2 separate regions of the Homo sapiens genome follow, and region 1 is linked to region 2. Evidence: promoter capture Hi-C in 16 types of primary human blood cells and fetal thymus (Javierre and others, 2016). All regions are on one chromosome and are shown on one strand. The core of a region is centred on a gene start or on the middle of the fragment in contact, and the rest is flanking DNA. Distances in the headings are between cores, read along the strand shown. Region 1 overlaps SHOC1 (shortage in chiasmata 1). Region 2 holds the start of KIAA1958.

Region 1 (3,396 bases), core at 391-2,890, 730 kb before region 2:
GGACCCTCTATATTCTTACTCTTGCAATATTCTCATTAGCTCAAGTACTATTTTTTGTGTATAACTCACAAATCAATATTTCTAGTTCAGGTGTCAATTTTTAAACTAGACATGACTACTTAATTTCCTATACCAGGTATATTGATTACAATTATTGGAAGAGATTTTAAAGTTCCCTATGACTGGCCTGCACACCAGACCAATTTATCAGAATATATCTCAGGCTTCAACATTTTTTTTTAACTATTCAGGTAATTCCAACATACAGCCAAGGCTGAGAACCACTATTTAGAAGTAAATTTGACTTCTTAATTGATACATGTTCATTCCATTATAAAATCTTTTTAATTTGACAATTGTAGACAATGTATATTACACAAATTTTACAAAAATGTGCCTCACTACTTTTACTAAAATATTATTGAAAGCCAGTATTACAACCTCATTTAAACATATTGTATCTTCTAGTTTCTCTTGACAAAAGTTCACTTTATCCATACAAAAATCTTCTTTCACAAAAGCTTCCAAAGTTTCTTGAAGAGAGAAACATTCCCTTAAAAAAAAATACATTAATTAGTGTTTACTAAAAGCAAGTTACATACTAAATGTAGCCAACCAAAACACATAATCATTAAAATTAAAGTTGAGGTAAAACGATGATAAAAGTTATTGGCCGGGTGCAGTGGCTCACGCCTGTAATCCCAGCACTTTGGGAGGCCGAGGCGGGTGGATCACCTGAGGTCAGGAGTTCAAGACCAGCCTGGCCAACATGGTGAAACCATGTCTCTACTAAAAATACAAAAATTAGCTGGGCACAGTGGCGCACGCCTGTAGTCTCAGCAAGGCTGAGGCAGGAGAATCGCATGTGCCCAGGAGGCGGAGGTTGCAGTGAGCCGAGATTGCGCCATTGTACTCCAGCCTGGGCGACAGAGCAAGACTCATCTCAAAACAAAACAAAAAAAAACATTGTTGATAACATCTAAGCTTGTGATCATACTAAAACATTTTCACCTCTTAAAAATATTTACAGCATTGGTCAATTAAGTAAGTACCTGGAAAAATTAGCTTCTGTGAAGATCTGTCCTTTGAAATCTAAAAGAGGATCCTTTACCAAAAACAGTTTTAGTCTACTCAAGAGAGTAGGCAAAGTTGGTAGGTGTTTTCTACTACTTACAAAAAGTATTCCTTTATCATCAATAAATAAATCTGAAAAGAAATAAGAAATATAAAGGAATAAGAAAAAAACAAAAAGTTATCCAAAGAGATCTAGATAGTTAATGTAATCAGTCATTAGATACAGCTGGGTTTTTCAATCACATTTTAAACTCTGTAGCTCTTCATTGTACTGTGCATATAGAGCATGTAGCATAGTTCTGGAACAAAGGCAAAAGTACAATAAATTTTAGTATTATCTAGGACACCGAGGAATAGCCAAATATCCCAAAAGAGCTGTAACGGCTAATACTTTATCAATAAAGATTAATCAATGGAGGAAAATATCTTATGGACTTACACTTCAAAATAGCCAGGCGTAGCCTAAGCAAAATTTTAAAGAAATAGAAGTATTTGACTTCTGCTGACCTTGGTCTTCTCTGCATCATTTTACCTCTTAATATCTCCAATTCATCCCCCAGAGTCTCTGACATGTAGGGAATGGAGATGGTCTACAGTGCCTACAAATGAGACTGATTCTATTATTCTTAAGTTATTCACATGGTTGCTATAAAATTATTTACAGTGAAAGTTTTAAGCAAAGAATCTACTTGAGGAGTATGATATAGCTTATGTATTAAGAAACACTACTGCTAACAGTTAATTTCTGGAATAAATTTCTCCTCTCGGTCTCCACCCTGCCTTGTCTGGGTTTCTTTAGAATCTTGGCTAGCTGTCTAACAGCTTTAACAGTTTCTAAGTCACAGGAAGGAACATAAACTTGCCCCCAATTCTTCAATAAGTTTTTGAGTAGAAAGAGAAAAAGAAAAATATAAGCTCAGATGAAGAACTACTCAAAAAGCCAAGTTCCCAAAAAAGAAAGCCATCCTGAAGGGAGAGCAATGGTTTCTCATCCTGGGTATTGACTTTTCGGTTAAGTGACGCTGAATGGCATAAGAAAAGAATAGTACGGAGTTTTCAGGTAGTAATGTCTCCCACGGTTAACTACATAATTGGTATGCAGGCAGCAAGGGAACATCCCTTTGCTTGGTGCTAACTTGATATGCCTTAAGAGAACTTGTGGTATGAACTAGCTTCCTAAAAGAGATTTATCTGAACTTAAGTTCCTGACAATCTCATGGCCAAAAGCTTCCCATGACACACCAAAGGAAGTTAGTCAATCAATTCCATGTCTAAGGAGGGCTTATCTGAGACAGTTAAATATGGTTTACTGGTATAATCCATTCTGTAAGTATTAATGAAATCACATTAATAGTAAAAACCCAAACAGCATTAATTTATATCCTATATCCACCTTCTGCTTCTAAACAGATCCTCCAGCCATCTTCCCTATCTACAGCCTCATTCTGGATATTTCTGGAACTAAATGGCTGACATCTGAAGTCAGTTATATGGTCTTGTTTTCCATCCACCCTTTTTTGATGAAACCACTTGAGGGCAGCATCACACCACAACTAATATTCTTTGTAATTCTACCAAGGTTGTTTATAGCAAGAGTGCCACTTCCTTACTTTCTTTGAGTTATACAGCATGCCCTGGAGTTCTTATTTTACTACAGCTAATACATGTACTATACAGATATAAGGAGACTGTTTTCTTCTATTGTAGAGGAATATTAAATTGTCACCAGGAAACAAAATTTTGGCTAGTTAACTATGAAAAGAAGCAGAAAAAGGTCTACTAATATGAAAGAAGAGAGGTTTATTCTTTACAAAGGACACTTTTGTCTCCCTAGAAAATTCAAGATAATGAAATGAAAACAAAAGAGTTCACTAAGTTATCTGATAAAAATTATACAATTAATGTTTTTTTTTAATATATAAAAACTTGGTCATAAAAATTAATGGAAAAAACATAAAAATACCAATTTGTGAACTATCAAGGACTAAACATAAAAATATTCAGAAAGTATATGCAGGAAATGATAGAACTTTATTGAAGATCATTTTTTTAAAAATTTGAAAAAAAGGCAAGATAAAAAACACTTTCCTAGCTAGAAAGACTAACTATGGTAAAATTTTAAAGGATCCCATTACCATTTCAAGAGGTCTGTTTTAGAACTTGGAAAAGTGATTACAAAGTAAATCTGGAAGAATATAGTTATGAGAGTAGAAAAAAGTAATAAAATAGGAGATTATTTATATATTATAATTATACATTTAATAGTTAAAATTATATGATACTGACACAATAATAGGCAAAATAGATCATAATAGAAAATCC
Region 2 (3,640 bases), core at 1,141-3,640:
CTGAGAATGCAGGACTCACTTCAGAGTATTTCTCTTCTTCCTGGGGGGCTCGTGGACTCTCAAGCCTTGGATGACAGGGTTGCTCTCCAATTGTTTTAAACAGACTTATTTATTTTTTTAAACAGCTTTCATCGTTCTCAGTGGCAGAGTTAGTTTGTTCAACAAGGTACCTCATCATGGTTGGATGCCTGCATCATTAAAAAAATTCATTGTAGTGAAATATCCTTTAAACAAATAAAATTAGATTTGTTTTGAAGTTGATTGTGGCAAAAACAATTTAAAATTTACCTTTGTAACTACTTTTAAGTGTACAGTTCGGTGGTGTTATATTTACATTATTGTGTAACATCTCTAGAAATTTTTCATCTTGCAAAATTGAAACTCTGTACCCAGTAAACATTATATCACCATTTTCCCCTCCCTCTACCCTCTAGCAACCACTATTCTACCGTCTTGTTTCCACAAGTTTGACATAATCCCACAGTTTACATACCTCTACATAGTTCATATAGGTCAAATCATAACAGTATTTGTCCTTTTGTGACTGGTTTATTGCACTTGGCACAACATCCTCAAGGTTCATCTATGTTGTAGCCTGTGATAAGATTTCCTTCCTTTTTAAGGCTGAATAATATTCCATTATATGTATATATCACATTTTCATTCATCTCTTCATCTGTTGATGAACATTTGGGCTGCTTCAACCTCTTGGCTATTGTGAATAGTGCTGCAATGAACATGAATGTGCAAATATCTCTTCGATATCCTGCTTTCAATTCTTTTGGATATTTACCCAGAAGTGGGATTGCTGGATCATATGGTAGCTCTAGTTTTAGTTTTTTGAGGAACTTCCCCACTGTTTTGCATAGTGGTGGTACCATCTACATTCCTATCAGCATTGCATAAGAGTTCCAATTTCTCCACAAGATCCCATCTTTAGAATATGCAGCAATTAACTAGGGGGTTTTCATTTTTGGTCTTTTTTGTTTGTACAAACATTATTGTGTCAACATTTACACAGATTTTAAATTTCAGCCTAGACCTGGAAGAGTGTTGATAGAGGAAGGTGTTAAGAACATCAACCGGAATCAGCTCTAGAGATGGAGAGGGGTTGGCAGAAGCTACCTAAAAGAGAACATGCTTGATGTGGTAATGAAGTTACCTGCTTGGATTCTGGACGACCCTGGATATTTTCTCCTTTGCTAAGAAGTTAGCTTCTTTCTCTCCCTCAAAAATATTCTTCTCTTCCCTTACCTACTCCAAGGGTACAAGTGACTGGGGTATGCCTGTCACAGATGAGGTGAGGCCAAGATGTGGGCACTACGTAAGGCCTGACAGATATGGTGTAAATGTTATTTATTACCATGATTACTGTTTTGGAGATGGTCAGTGCTGTAAATAGAAAGGGAGTTAAGAGCAGACTCTGAAGCCAGACTGTCCGGAATGAATCCAGGCTCCTCTAGCTACTATCTATGTGATGTTGAAAAAATTTCTTAATTTCTCTGTGCCTCAGTTTCCTTATCATAAAATGGCAATGTTAATAGCACCCACTATGTAGAGTTCTTAGGATTAAATAAATTAATATTCGCTAAGTACTCAGTGCAAACTGTGGGCACACAGCAAGTACTACGAAAGTGTTAGGTAAAATAAAGGTGGACCAAGCCTGGTAGCACCTAGCAAGTCCAGCTTCATCTTTGCTGTGCTGAGTCGTGTAGGTGGTGTTCTTGTGTCTCTGGTTTGCTGGAGGACCTAGTTTTAGTGTATTTTAGGTATCATTAAGCATCCCCGCTCCCTCGATGGGATAGGGGTGTGTGTGTTACAGGTGGTTGTTGGGCACCTTCACGGGGCAGCGGTGACTATGGGCTGTACGTAGTATCTCGGTAGAAAGTGTTAATGCACATCCCTGGGCGGAGAGGTAACTCTACTCAATGCGTTATAAGGGAAATCACACACCTCACGGATGGTGTAGGTTCTGTCTGCTCCTTGCGTTTCAGTGGAGGTGCACAGAGCTCCGGGGGGCATCGGGGACCGCGGGCCCAGGACGTGTAGTAGGGAGCAGTGCTGTACACTTCCTCGGACCATAGCGGGGACGGCGGGTTCCACACCTGTCGGGGCAGTAGGGACTGAGCTCGTGCGCGCGGAGGATGGATTGCTCCAACCTCTCGGTCCAGCGCGCCGGCCGCCGCGTGCGAACGTGTGTGCGGCAGGAGGCTCGATCTACACCTCCTCGGGGCAGCAACGACTGCGAGCTCGGTGCGTGCCGTAGGAGGTGTCGTTACACACTTCCTGTGGGTCTCGCCGACCACGGCGCGTTTCCGGTGCCGGCTGGAGCCCGGGGTCCGAGCCCCCGCCCCGCTCGCCGGCCCCGCCCCGGCCCGCCCGCGCCCCGCCCCCTGCCCGCCCGCCGCGCTCCGAGCCGGGCGCGCGGAGCTCGGGGCGCACGGAGCGGCGCGCGGCGGTCGGCCGAGCCAGGCTGGCGCCCCCGCCCCCCGCCCCGCTCCTCGGTCCGCCGCCCGCCGGGCGCCTTCCCCGCTCCACTTACCTTTGGTGCCCGGCCCTCTGGCCGCTCTCCTCCCGCCCTCGCGCCCCTTCGGCCCGTCCCGTCCAGCCCGGGCTGCCCGGCTCTCGCAGGCCCCCCCGCGCCGACCGCGTTCCTATGGACAGACGCACAGACACCTGCAGGTGGGTGAGAGCCCGCGCGCGGGGCGGGGACGAGTGCGCCGACGCCGCGACCCAGGCGGGGAGCCCCTTTGTGTGGGGGGCGGCCGCGCCGGGGTCGACTCTGCTTCCCCGTCAGCGGCCGCGCGGTGACCCGGCTGAACCTTCCTTTTGTCTCCTCTCGGGGGAGCGAGGCCGGAGCGAGGGCAGGGACCCGGGCGGCCGCTCGTCGGCAGCGCCGGGCTTGGGGGTGCGAGGCGCAGAGACCCCCGGTGGCGGCTCCGGTCCGCCTGCCCCGGGCCGCCCCGCCGCCCGGCAGCTCGGGTCTCAGCGGCGGCTGCAGGCGCAGTGCGTGGGGCTGGCGCCCCCGCTCCTGCTCTTGGGTCTGTCGGAGGTGGGAAGGAGGGCGGGAAGGAGGAGGAAAAGGTCTGTCCTCTTAGTTTCCAAGTCTTGAGATGCTTATGGAGAAAGAGAGGTGGTTCAGGGCTCTGCCCCACTAGTTTTCCTCCTCGGGTGGCTCGCCGAGGTGCGTTTGGGGCGTGTGTGAAGGAACGTGCATGGCTTCGCTCCCTTATTTATTGTTTCTAACGGAGGAGGGCTTTCTCCAAAAGGCTCTTCCGCCCCCCCACCCCCATCTGAGGCTGCGCACAGTGATTTGTGTTTGTTATCAAATATATCGAGAAATGTATTCCCCTGGGTAGGAGGAGGTTGGACTGAACAACGTCAAACCAAAATCAAAGAATGTTTTTGGTTCCTTCAAGTCTTTTTTTTTCTTTAAGGTTTTAGATTGGGACTTTAAAAAAAATGAACGTGGCTGTGATTTTTACAATTATATGTATTTAGTGTGTGTGCGTGTGTGTGTGTGTGTGTGTGTGTGTGTTTTGAAGTTTAGGAGTAAAGTTTTGTTTTTTCCCGAACTCGTTAGGATTCGCAAGACGGAATCCTCTCCCGACGAAATAAACAGCTAACAAGCCAGTCAGGT

What was found. The method cuts DNA at HindIII sites, captures the fragments that hold promoters and counts their contacts. A CHiCAGO score of 5 or more calls a contact.
Region 1: a contact is called between a fragment that was not itself captured here and the fragment with the promoter of KIAA1958 in region 2, in 1 of 17 cell types (fetal thymus). The highest score is 5.1, in fetal thymus.

Annotation. Positions count from the first base shown.
Region 1 is chr9:111,757,643-111,761,038 of GRCh38, forward strand. SHOC1 (shortage in chiasmata 1) reads right to left here. Exons shown (of 28, transcript NM_001378211.1): 6 at 1,053-1,206; 7 at 442-553. Among named protein-coding and RNA genes, the nearest start is that of SHOC1, 36 kb to the right of the region's middle. The HindIII fragment of the contact is 1,317 bases long and covers 983-2,299 here.
Region 2 is chr9:112,484,437-112,488,076 of GRCh38, forward strand. It overlaps KIAA1958, which reads left to right and starts at 2,391. Exons shown (of 4, transcript NM_133465.4): 1 at 2,391-2,682. It overlaps HSDL2-AS1 (HSDL2 antisense RNA 1), which reads right to left and starts at 3,208. Exons shown (of 5, transcript NR_171779.1): 1 at 2,543-3,208; 2 at 1,954-2,105. RefSeq lists an enhancer at 1,870-1,929 and silencers at 2,360-2,419, 2,500-2,989. The HindIII fragment of the contact is 12,105 bases long and covers 1-3,640 here.